Linked DNA regions of Homo sapiens: region 1 is linked to region 2. The links are contacts of gene promoters, found by promoter capture Hi-C in blood cells and fetal thymus (Javierre and others, 2016). All regions are on one chromosome and are shown on one strand. Each heading gives the region's core, a stretch centred on a gene start or on the middle of the fragment in contact. The rest is flanking DNA. Distances are from core to core; before and after follow the strand shown.

Evidence for each region. The method cuts DNA at HindIII sites, captures the fragments that hold promoters and counts their contacts. A CHiCAGO score of 5 or more calls a contact.
Region 1: a contact is called between a fragment that was not itself captured here and the fragment with the promoter of EGFL6 in region 2, in 1 of 17 cell types (neutrophils). The highest score is 8.9, in neutrophils.

Annotation. Positions count from the first base shown.
Region 1 is chrX:15,281,632-15,288,108 of GRCh38, forward strand. ASB11 (ankyrin repeat and SOCS box containing 11) reads right to left here. Exons shown (of 7, transcript NM_080873.3): 6 at 6,250-6,441; 7 at 66-1,998. The coding sequence ends at 1,874. Among named protein-coding and RNA genes, the nearest start is that of ASB9, 15 kb to the left of the region's middle. The HindIII fragment of the contact is 7,876 bases long and covers 1,239-6,477 here.
Region 2 is chrX:13,567,514-13,574,018 of GRCh38, forward strand. EGFL6 (EGF like domain multiple 6) reads left to right here and starts at 2,088. Exons shown (of 12, transcript NM_015507.4): 1 at 2,088-2,422. The coding sequence starts at 2,349. The HindIII fragment of the contact is 1,986 bases long and covers 1,076-3,061 here.

The DNA of each region.
Region 1 (6,477 bases), core at 3,927-6,426, 1.7 Mb after region 2:
GCACTATTGACATTTTGTACCTGATAATTCTTTTTTTTGTTTGTTTTTCTTTCTTTCTTTCTTTCTTTTTTTTTTTTTTGTTTTGAGACGGAGTCTCGCTCTGTCACCCAGGCTGGAGTGCAGTGGCGTGATCTTGGCTTACTGCAATCTCCGCCTCCCGGGTTCAAGTGATTCTCCTGCCTCAGCCTCCCAAGTAGCTGGGACTATAGGCACCTGCCACCACGCCTGGCTAACTTTTGTATTTTTAGTAGAGACAGGGTTTCACCATAGTGGCCAGGCGGTTCTCGAACTCCTGACAGTGCGATCTGCCTGCCTCGGCCTCCCAAAATGCTGGGATTACAGGCGTGAGCCACCATGCCCGGCCAGATCTGATAATTCTTTGTTGCTGGCTCCTGTGCACTGTAGGGTGATTAGCTGCATCCCTGATCTCCACCGTCTAGATGATAGTAGCAATTCTCCCCCAGTTGTTGCAACTAAACATGTCTGCAGACATTGACAAATGTCTCAGTGGGAGTGGGGCAAAATTGTCTCCAGTTGAGAGCCAAAGGTCTAGAAAAATTGGGGGAAAAAAAAACATGTGTGAAATGAGTCTTAGGATGATCTGAGAGGGAATTTTCATTTTAGAACTGAATACTGAACCATGACAGTAATACTTACAATAATTAAAAGTCTATCCAGTTCCCATGTTCTAAATTCACAAAAAAGAGAAAGAATAGAGGAAGAGGAGGGGTGACAGAAGGAGAGAGAAATGAGAAGAAGGAGAAGACAGAAAAGGAGAAGCCTCTTTTTATATACCTTTGTGCTTATTTTGGGCCCCTATCCACAGAAAAAAATATTGACCCAGCATTGAGCCCACTTTGGTGGCTGGCATCAGTATGTAATTATTTCAAAAACCCTGAGCATCTTGACTTTGAAAATAAGCCAGTGCTTGGGTTGCAACATGCCTCAGACAATGCCTGTGGGTTCAGGTTGTTGGGGACACCCAGTGTTCTCAATCCTAGAACTGCTTACTTCAAATAACAGCATTTAATATCAGAAGCAATAAGCAATAGATGCCAACCTCTGGGTGCACTGATCTCTTCCAAAGTCTCTCTTATCAACCAGGACCGCAGTAACTGGAAGCCTCAGTTAACTACAATGTTTCTGAAGTCCTTAACTTTATATATGTATATATATATAAAGTCTATATAAATATATATAACTTTATATATAAAGAACTTTGAAAACATATATATATAAGCTTTATACATATATTAAGGACTTTGAAAACATATATGAACTATATATATTAAGGACTTTGAAAACATTAAATATATGAGTGCATGTGTGTGTGTGTATATATATACGTATATATATATACGTATATGTATGTATATATATATACGTATATATATACAAAAAATCAAAATTATACCAGATTTATTCAAGGAAAGAAAGAAAAAAAGTGGGGAAGGGCTGAAGGAAGGAACTAAATCAAGAACATATCTTGGAATACCTAACATTTGTTATAATCTTATCCACCTGAATTTATATGTGTCTATACAATATTCAGAATGTTGACTTTTAGGTACAAGAAGATCCCGAATCATCAAAAAACAGCCTATTGTTTTCACTCTACTTCACAGTTCTTTTAAGTTTCTTAACAACAAGAGCTAAAAGCTAAATGGTTTCTACTTGCCCCTTGGTTAATGAGAACATTAAACTAACCAGGAGTTTCCACTCCTCAAGTGTTCTAGCTCATGGGGGATTTACTTCGACTGAGCTCATTTAAAGATACTAGGAGTCTAAGCTGTTGAGCTTCTACATTAGGTACTCTAGGTACAGCAGACAACAATCTGTGTCATTCCAAGTATCTTCCCAGGAACACTTAGGACTATTGGTATAGGAGGAATCGTTCGAGTGGCTCTGGCAGATGTAGCTTGTGGATGGCTTGATGACATGCTCGACCGAGACACTTCCGGACACACAGGCGGCAGAGCTGGGAAAGAGCAGGTGGGCCTGAGAGAGAAATAAAAATGGTGTTAACTTCATAGTGGTGGGAGGTGGGGTGGAAGGGGGAAATCAGAGAACTGGAAGAGGCGGAAATTTTCTAAAAGCAGAAGAGAAGCTGGATCTGTATAGGAACTATAGAATGAGGTAGCGGACACTAAATACAGACAGCAGATCCTGATTTGCCCCTCTGGAAGGGATGCATTTCTTTAAGTTAATCTTCCAATGGTACTTGGATTACCAATGTTGAAGAATGAAGCTAACCAGAGGCAAGTTAGGAATGAGGTGTGGGGTCTAAAGGGAATGCATCTCATTCATGTATTGAATGTGCCAATGAAAGTGATACACGGGGCCAGGCACGGTGGCTCACGCCTGTAATCCCAGCACTTTGGGAGGCCAAGGTGGGCGGATCACGAGGTCAGGAGATGGAGACCATCCTGGCTAACACGGTGAAACCCCGTGTCCACTAAAAATACAAAAAATTAGCCGGGTGTGGTGGCGGGTGCCTATAGTCCCAGCTACTCGGGAGGCTGAGGCAGGAGAATGGCGTGAACCCGGGAGGCGGAGCTTGCAGTGAGCCGAGATCGGGCCACTGCACTCCAGCCTGGGCGACAGAGCGAGACTCCGCCTCAAAAAAAAAAAAAAAAAAAGAAAGAAAGAAAGAAAGTAATACACTGGCCAAGGAGAAAATGCAAATGGAAGGACTGAACACGCAGGACTCCAAGACACAGCCACAGAACAGAGGGACAATACGGAAAGGGTGTCAGCGGGAAGTTCCACCTGCGTGGTGACAGAGGCAGTGTTAGGAGATGTGCCAGGGGCCAGATATTCAGCCCTCAAAGTACTCCTGGACCTACCGGCTCTAGCTGCCCATGAGGTGGTGCTGGCTGGGTCTCAACTTAAATCTGAAGAGGCCCTTTATTCTTGCAAGGATTCCAGCTCAATAGAGATCTGCAAGAAGGACTCAAGTCAGACCCTATTGTTCCCTGAAACTGAGTCTCATGGACTCTCAAGGAGTCTCACAGAATCATCATGCCCATGGCTTTGAATGGCTCTGAATCCTTAAGGAAAATCAGCTGATGAGAGTCCAGAATATGGTTGAATAGGATGAATGAGCTTTTGGCTGCAATACTAGTTGCACAGTCATTATTTCCTAACCTGACTGTTATCAGTAAAGATCTCTTCAAGAAAACCTAATTACTGGTCTACACAAAGTTTTCCTTTTCAAAAAAATCCACTGTAACAGCATCTCACACCCCATGAAAAATGATGGACTGCATATGCGAATAGCCAGGTTAACATTTGGCTTCACATTGCCAAGGAGCATCCATGAGATAGAAAGCTACCTGGAGGACCAAACAATCGATCTTAGTTAAAATCTTGGGAAGCAAGAATAGAAAACTTCTTTACCTGTTGTCCTACTTAACCTCCTCTGCAAAATGGTAATGTAGACAAATTGTCCAGTGCCCAGAGACACTGACAGGAGAGTGAACTCTGATGTAGTTGGTATTTAATCTTTCTTTTTTTTTTTTTTTTTTTTTGACAGAATCTCACTCGGTCGCCCAGGCTGAAATGCAGTGGTTCAATCTCAGCTCACTCCAACCTCTGCCTCCCGGGTTTAGGCAGTTCTCTGCCTCAGCCTCCCGGGTAGGTGGGATTACAGGCGGGTGCCACCAAACCCAGCTAATTTTTGTATTTTTAGTAGAGACGGGGTTTCACCATCTTAGCCAGGCTGGTCTTGAACTCCTGACCTCATGGTCTACCCGCCTGGGCCTCCCAAAGTGCTGGGATTACAGGTGTGAGCCACCGCGCCCAGCCAGTATTAATCTTTCTAGAGCAAGTGGCTATATTTATGAAGACAAAGGACAGAGGAGCTAGGCCCTGTCCAGGATATCCAGGTCTACAAATCCTAGTCCTAGAAACATTTTTGATGGAAGAAAATAGGAAATGTGAAAACTTCTATAAACTATAGTCTCTGCTAACAGTTGGAAAGTAGCTGGTATTTCCAAGCTCGGATCTGCTGAGGAAGATCATAATTCTTCTGGTGAAGATTCAAATAAAAGAACAATGATTAATGATCTAGACTATTGAAAATAATCCTGGCCAGGCGCGGTGGCTCACGCCTGAAATCCCTGCACTTTGGGAGGCTGAGGCGGGTGGATCACCTGAGGTCAGGAGTTCGAGACCAGCCTAGCCAACATGATGAAACCCCATCTCTACTAAAAATACAAAAAATTAGCTGGGCGTGGTGGCACGCGCCTGTAATCGCAGCTACTCAGGAGGCTGAAGCAGGAGAATTGCTTGAACCCGGGAGGCGGAGGTTGCAGTGAGCCGAGATCACGCCACTGCACTCCAGCCTGGGCAACAAGAGCAAAACTCCGTCTAAAATAATAATAATAATAATAACAATAATAATAATCTAGACCAGTGGTACGCAAAGTGTGGTCCTCAGACCAGCACCATCAACATCACGTGGGAGCCTGCTAGACATGCAGAGTCACAGGTCCCATCCTAGACCTCCTGAATGAGAATCTGTATTTTAAGGAAATCCTCAAGTGAACTGATATGCATGTTAAATCTTAAGAAGCACTGATTTAGAAAGACTATTCATAAAATGGTTAAAACCAAGCATTCTACTTGGAAGGTATATATGATGTAGTGGTTTCACAAAATGGAACTGGTGAGTGAAATAAGACCCTCCTCACTGAATGTTTCAAAAGATTCAGGGTTGGGGCCTTATGACATTAAGAGTGCACATTCTGATGGCCAGGTGCAGTGGCTCACACCTGTAATCCCAGCACTTTGGAAGGCTGAGGCGGGCGGATCACAATGTCAAGAGATCGAGACCATCCTGGCTAACATGGTGAAACCCCGTCTCTACTAAAAATACAAAAATTAGCTGGGTGTGGTGGTGCACGCCTGTAGTCCCAGCTACTCAGGAGGCTGAGGCAGAAAAATCGCTTGAACCCGGGAGGCAGAGGTTGCAGTGAGCCGAGATCGCACCACTGCACTCCAGCCTGGAGACAGAGTGAGACTCCATCTCAAAAAAAAAAAAAAAAAAAAAAGTGCACACTCTGGGGTCAGATGGCTCAGAATCCTACCTAATTCTATTATGTAGCTAGCTGTGTGACCTTGTCAATGCTTTTCTTTTCCCATTTGTACCTGGCATAGCAACCAGCTACTACCATATAAAGTTCCCACTGCTCTAAAGTTTTAAAAATTCAGTGAGCTTGATCTATGTTTCAAATTTAGCCCAGTGCCTGGCATACGTAGAGCTGAATAATTATAATTATCTTTAATATTCTTCAGGCACACAAATAATCAATATAGGCTCCGAAAATATTTTCTTACTGTATAGACATAAGAGGTTCTCTTCTGAATTGGTTCTCTTCTGAATTTCAGATGCTCGCCTTACCTCTTCTGGCATCAGTAGTTGCTCTTAATGCTCATGGTGGAAACGGGAATGAAGCAATGAAGAATGCAGACCCACCTACTCCCTGATCTGGAGAACAGGCAAACAACCTCACCATTTAGTCGGATTTCTGAAATACTCTGTGTCCTCCCCTACAGACTCTGACTCAAGTCTTTTGAATTTGCCATCAGATTGTCTCCCAATATTACAAAGCAGAGTTTTGGTTTGCTCAATCATACGCTTATGCCAGGACAGAAATGGAAATTCAAGATTTTCGGGGTATAAACAAGGTTTTCTGGTTTTCTTTTTTTTGAGACGGAGTCTCGCTCTGTCACCCAGGCTGGAATGCAGTGGTGTGATCTCTGCTCATCGCAACCTCCGCCTCCCAGGTTCAAGCGATTCTCCTGCCTCAGCCTCCCAAGTAGCTGGAACTACAGGCGCCAGCCACCACATCTGGCTAATTTCTGTATTTTTAGTAGAGACAGGATTTCACCATGCTGGCCAGGCTGGTCTCAAACTCCTGACCTTGTGATCCACCCGCCTCAGCCTCCCAAAGTGCTGGGATTACAGGCGTGAGCCACCACGCCCAGCCGGTTTTCTGGTTATTTTCTTGTTATATAAAATACAAAGCAACACTCTGGTTATAGGTAAATGCCCTTTGGTTGTTAGTGAATATACACAGCATATAAAATCCCAGAAGACAGGTCAGTGACGGCAGGGCCTATCACCTCCCACAATGCCACCTTCAATTAAAAAGAGAAAAGAAAAAGGAAAAAATGCTACAGATGAGACAGGAAGGGGAGAGAATGTGCTTATGGAAGAGGAATGGATACCCAGCCCTTGGTTACCTTCACGGAGCAAGAGTGCCTGCTCCACGCTGCTTTTTGGAGCCGCCAGATCAAGCGCACTTTTGCCCTGAGCATTTCTACGCTTCAGGTTAGCTCCATAGTCGGTTAGCAGGTGGATGACCTCCACATTGGACTGCCTCGCTGCAGCATGGAGTGGGGTGTCCAGCCACTGGCCATGGTCGACACTGGCTCCTTAACAAAACAGATGGCCACAATTCAACACTAAAT
Region 2 (6,505 bases), core at 838-3,337:
CCTCAGGCCTTACATTTCAGTAGGACCTTCAACAGTCAGTATCACTAGCCATTTGCCTGAGGGCTTTCTTTGGCTGTAAGCCCCACTCTGTCTTCAGCACAGAAGACTGAGTTCTAGGATCAGTACCACAGTTGAAGCTTTCAGGTAATGAGTGAATGGAAGTGGTGTATAAATACCCAGTTCCCTTGCCTTTTAGGTAAAATCATTTGGAGATGCTTGTTCTATGCTGGCTCTGGGAGATCCCCAGCAGCATGAACCTCCAGTTGCTCACAATGATAACTTAATATATGCCTGATATTGTCTTCTTTCCCAACTCATTTCCTCACTCACCTACCCATGTTCTCTGTACCTCCAGAATAAACTACTTTTACTTGAATCCTTGCCTCAGGGCCTGCTTGTGGGGAAACCCACAACAAGACAAATTTTATATTCCATTTTCTTTAAGATCCTCACAGGTATAGAGTTCATAACTTATATTATTTTCTTTTAGTTTTAATATTTCAGTAAATAAAATAAGTTATGGTATGAAGAGTTCAAAGTGTTTTGATGACAACCTTGAAGAGCTCATCTTATTACCTTATTCATGATACTCATCTGACATGTGAATCTGCCAATACGTGAGAAGATGAGAAAAGAGATTGATATAACAGCAGCAGAGCCCAATGGGGAAAAGCCCTGGTTTCCAGTTCTGGTTCTATACTTGTTAGCTGTATGACCTTGGTCGGGCAAGCTGCTTAACCTCTCCGACTCAGTTTCTTGACACTTCAAACATGGGGGAACTAATGGTCTCCATCCACAGGCTTGTGGATGTTCAATCAGATAACATATGTGTTTAGGACAAGGTCTGACACTATTAATTACGAGCAGCTCAATGGTCTAACTAGTTACCCAAGAATACTGAATCCATGGGGATACCTTCAACTGTAAAATAGAAGTCCCAACTAAACATGGCTTGCACCAATAAGAACATCTATTACAATGTAAAGCAAGATTCTGCAGCAAGAATCTCCCCCCTCCCTACTTCTCACATTTCATTGGCCAGAATTAAGGCATATGCCTATAAAACCATGAATCAAGCTTCCAATCAAGATAAACCTCCTCTTTCTCTGTATCCTTTTTCATTTCATTTCTCACACTGGGCCACTGTGTGTCAGAGGACTATCACAATAAGCCTCAGTAGATTGGCTGGTGCCGGGCAACCTTAGCTGAGCTCATTCATATACGTGTGGATTGGGTAATATACATGAGGCTCCACCGAGTAGCTCTGCTTCAAGCTATAGATCTGCAGGTTGACGAGGTAGCTTTTTCACCTGTTTCTCATTCGCCTTGGACCACCAGGCTAGGTGGTGCAAGGTCTTCTCATGTCCATGATAGAGGGTCAGGTGTGTTAAGACCTAGGCTTGGAACTGGAACACTGCAACTTTTCTGCCCTTAAACCATTGATCAAACAAGTCACACGGCCAAGTCCAAAGCCAAGGTGTGGGGTCATAGTGTCTGCCTACCATGAAGCCAAAGGGTGTGGACGTAGGAAGGACAGAAAGGGATCAGTCATTCATTCTAATGTAACACGTTGTCAGAACAAAGAATGTGTCAGTACCCAAATGGATCTGAATTCATATAGCATTCATGTTTCTGCCATGAATTTCTGCACTGGTTACTATATTGGGATGTCATCTGGGGTCCCATGTAAGTAAGCTGTTGCAAATGGGCCTGAGAGATTACTTGCCAAATGACAGGGTTGCCCAGGACTTAGTGACCTTCCAGCTCTAGCATCCCATTATTTGCAGTTTGTAGAAGAAAACCGGGAGAACGTGAAAACCCAAAGAGAAGTGAGGGATCATGTCTTAGGAACCTGCATCCTTCCATCCTGCTTCGACTTCTCAACTAAATTCTTAAGTCCTGGAGTGCAGGTATCACCGAAATTTGCCCCATGCCTGAAATACATGGTAGTAGATGGTGACTCTGACAAGCGTGAAGTGACCTGAATCTGGGGGAAGTTTCTGGGTGAACAGAGAGCGCGGAGGATGCGCGGGTCATGCTGGAGGCGGGTCCCAGCCAGATGTGCACAGCCCGCCCCGCCCTCCCTCGCTCACCCCGTCCAGCTTCATCCGCAGAGGAGCCTCGGCCAGGCTTGCCAGGGCGCCCCCAGCCCCTCCCCAGGCCGCGAGCGCCCCTGCCGCGGTGCCTGGCCTCCCCTCCCAGACTGCAGGGACAGCACCCGGTAACTGCGAGTGGAGCGGAGGACCCGAGCGGCTGAGGAGAGAGGAGGCGGCGGCTTAGCTGCTACGGGGTCCGGCCGGCGCCCTCCCGAGGGGGGCTCAGGAGGAGGAAGGAGGACCCGTGCGAGAATGCCTCTGCCCTGGAGCCTTGCGCTCCCGCTGCTGCTCTCCTGGGTGGCAGGTGGTTTCGGGAACGCGGCCAGGTGAGTGTCTGACTGGCGATTGGCTTCCCCCCACCCCCGGCCTGAGGTCCCGCTTTGGGGCCCCATGTCTTTGCAGGCACCCCCGCGTGTATGGGTGTGAGTGTGCACGTGTGCCTGTGCGCGCTGCGACGGGATTTAACCTGGATACCAGGCCGGGAGCGCCCACGGGCTTTCCTCCCTGCTCTCCTGTGGCGGGGCTTTGCACCTAGTTAGCTCCTTTTGCATCAGCTGTGCCCCACCTGGCTGCGTCCGGAGGGTTGCAGGAGGAGGGAGGCTCTGCACGCAGACCCGTGGGTGCGTGCGGGCTTGATGGTCTGCAGACCTGCTGTAGGGGCAGGTGTGTGAGGGTTGGTATGCGTGTCGGTGGGTGGGTTCTGTGTCTGTGCGGTTTTGTGTTTTCCACTCTATTCACAGGACACCAAGTGCTTGTCAGTCGCTAGTTTTGCTGGGGAAGGAGGGAAAGAAACCGAGGACGATAAAGCATTTACTGTTCTTGAGCTGAGCCAGCCGGGCTGCTCTCCTCACTGCTCTCTGATTAGGGTTGATGAACTGGAAAGAAAGGACACGGTTGTCAGATGACAACCATTCTCATTCTTGCTATGGCAATGCAGACTCTGAAGCCGTTCCCTACTGCCCTTAAGCTTAGCTGAGACCTGAAATATTTTTTCCAGAGATCGGCAAAGACGCTTAGTAAATGCACGCTTACATGGTGACTGTCGACCTGGCACTGTTCTAAGCACTTCAGGACTATTAACCTACCCAAAGCCATAATGGCTCTGTGTGTAAGGTACTATTATCATCATCTCCGTGTTGTAGAAGAGAAAAACGAGGCACAGAGAGGTAAAGTAATTTGCCTGAGGAAGCATAGCCAGTAAGAGATGGAGCCAGGGTGCAAACCTAGGTATTCTGGCCCAAAGTCTGTTCTTCACCAGGGCACTAGGGCAGCCTTCCGGCAACGGAAGAGGTTTTCTGGTTCTCTAACTGTGATGTCTTGCTTTCTACTTAGGTGTCCACTAGAATATGGTTTTTCCACCGCAGCATTATTGACCTTTCGGGCTGGGCTGGATAATTATTTGTTGGGGTGATGGGCTGCCCTGTGCATTGTAGGATGTTTAGCAGCACCTGTGGCCTCTACTCACTAGATACTAGTAGCAACCTTGACCCCACCCCACCCCCCACCACCACCACCACCACCAAGTTGTGGCAACAAAAAAAAGGTTTGGGATATTGCCCAAGGTCCCTGGAGGGCACAATTGCTCCTAGCGGAGACTGCTGAACTATAGAAATTTTTCAGTGATGATTCCTGAGGAGAGTAGGATAAGAGCTTTGGTTTGGTACAGGCTTCTCGAAGGTTTGCCTATCTTTGTTTGACTTACAGGAAAAAATATTTCATCAGAGTTAGCCATGGTATTAAAGGATTTCGAAGTTAAAACAGAACAAACCTCAAACCAGGTTCTTAGAATGTATGATCGCAAGTTTCAATTTCCTTTTCATGATAAAAATGTAAGCAGATGCAATTTGCTCATAATCACATTTTCCTTGAATGCTAGAGGTTCTTGCGTTGCTAGAAAGCCCACTTAAAAAAGACCAAATGCTGTTTGGAGATGAGATTAATAGTTCTTTAGCGGCCAGCAAACTGACCTCCAGGAGCTTCACTTTCAAAGTGCCACCAAATTAAATTAAAAGCCAAAAGCCCCTGGATAAACCAAAGCATATTAAACTGGAGAATCCATGTCAGGATTCTGCAATTCTGCAGTTTTCAAGATGTGAACCATGGTTTCTTTAGACGATTATCAAGTTTATGAGCTGGTGTGTTTATTATTTGCTCAATGTGCTTGGAAATGTCAAGTGGTCAGCTCTTCAGGAATGTCCAGGACCCATGTTTAATCAGCTCTAGATTCCACATTATGGATAAGACACTGTTACAGAGAAGGCAAGGCACCCATTGCAGAAAACTGTGTCTACTGGTTATTTCCTGGGGTTTCACAACTTATAGGAAAAACTGTGGCTGCTGTATAGAGATTTCCAGTATAAGCATCAGTTCTTTTTAATTGAAACACTGCACTATGATTTTATAACCTAGAAAATTATGTGCTTCTTAAATGGTATTTAGTGCATAGTACACAATTAACGCTCATCAAATGAATAAATCATTAGCTCCATGCATGTACCTGCCCTTAAGCTTCAGAATTTGGCTTGCCTTATATTTTTTATGTCCTTTGGGTATTGGAACTATTTAGATACCCTAGACCTGTCCAATACAGCAAAGATGGTAACCAGGAGCCCCAAGTGGCTATTGAATACCTGAAATGTGACCAGTCCAAGTTGAGATGTGCTGCAAAAAGTATCAAATACACATCTAATTTTCAAAAAAAAGAACAGGAACTATCTCACTAATCATTTGATATTGATTACATGTTGAAATGGTAATGTGGATATACTGCATTAGATAAAATTGTTATTAAGATTAATTGCTTCTGTTTCTTTAGCATTTAAAAAATGTGGCTACTAGAAAATTTTAAATGGCATATATGGATATTTATTTCTATTGGACAGTGCTGGTCTAGAACACTTATTGATCTGAACTCCATCTCGAGTGTTCTAAGTCCTAACACTGGGATCTTTTTGCCTTGAGTACCTAAGATAAATATATTATTAACTTTGCTATTCTGGAGATTAACGTTTGGAGCAACTCCTTCCTTACAACATATTTCTGTTTTATATTTTTTTCTCTACTGAATTCAAGTAAAAATAATGTGAGAGAGGAGGGAATGACTAGGTTCCTGCTGAGAGGCTTTACTTACAGAGACCACATGCTATGTGGGTAATTGATTTTTCTCAAAGCCCTGGTAGCAAAGTGCCACTGTAAAAATTGGCCACAAATTCCATGGCTTAAAACAAGAGAAGTTTATTGTCTTACAGTTCTGAAGACCGGAAGTCCATAATGAATCTTATGGGGCTAAGATTAAGGCATCAGCAGGACTGGTTTCTTCTGGAGGCTCCAGGGAGGTTCCATTTCTTGTATCTTCCAGCTTCTAGAGGCTGCCAACAGTCCTTAGCTTGTGGCACAATATCTTTTTCCTTTGTCACTTTGCCTTCTCTCTGATTCTTCCTTGTTTTCTTCCTCCTAAGAAGAACCCTTGTGATTATATCAGGCCCACTCGGATAATTCAGGATAATCTGCTCATTGCAAGAGCCCTCACTCGATCACATCTGGAAAGTCCCTTTTGATATATAAGATAACATTTACAGGTTCCGGGGATTAGGATGTATACCTCTGCGGGGTGGGGGCGTTATTCAGCCTTTCACAGGAAGCCTGAGCTGTAAGTCTGTTGTTCTTATTTCTATGGGCTAGATTTTATCTTTAAACATGATTTTGGTGATTTTCGAATGATTGGTATATCATTTATTTCTTTATTCTTCAAGCTGTAATTTGTGAGAATGTACCCAAAACTAAAGAGCTGTGTGTTTCTGGGAAATAATAATCATCTAATTACAACTTAAAAATCATTTCTGGGCAGCCTTATTTCAATAGTTAGTTTCACTGGCTTAGAAAGTGTTAAAGTCCTATTTATATGTAATTCATGAGCATAAATCAAGGCTATGTAAACATTACAATGAAAATAAGTGTATTACCTAGTCTTCATAAATCAGATTGGCATTCAACAGATATTATTGAGGCCCTAGTCAGTGTCAACCATTTTCAATGTTATTTCAATCAATCCTCTCAACAACCCTAAGAAATGGGTATTGTGTTCATTTGACAGACAAGGGAATGGAGAAACTTGAAGAAATTAGGTGATTTCCCAGGAATTACATTTGATTTGGTCTTCTGCTCTAAGACCAGTGTTGTCCCACTATTCCAAATTTATTCCCTCAAAAAAAGTGAATACAGAAAAGCTGACATTTTTACAAAGGGCTTTCTTACAAATGATCACCAGTGATCCTGTTTAGCTTGACTCTAGTTCAGCACATTCAAGGGACATATGTAGAGTAAGTGCTCCATCCACCCAGTACCACCACTTTCCTTTCTAAGTTTGCATTTTCTCAGAAGCAGACTCTGTGTGTAATTTATTTGAGAGG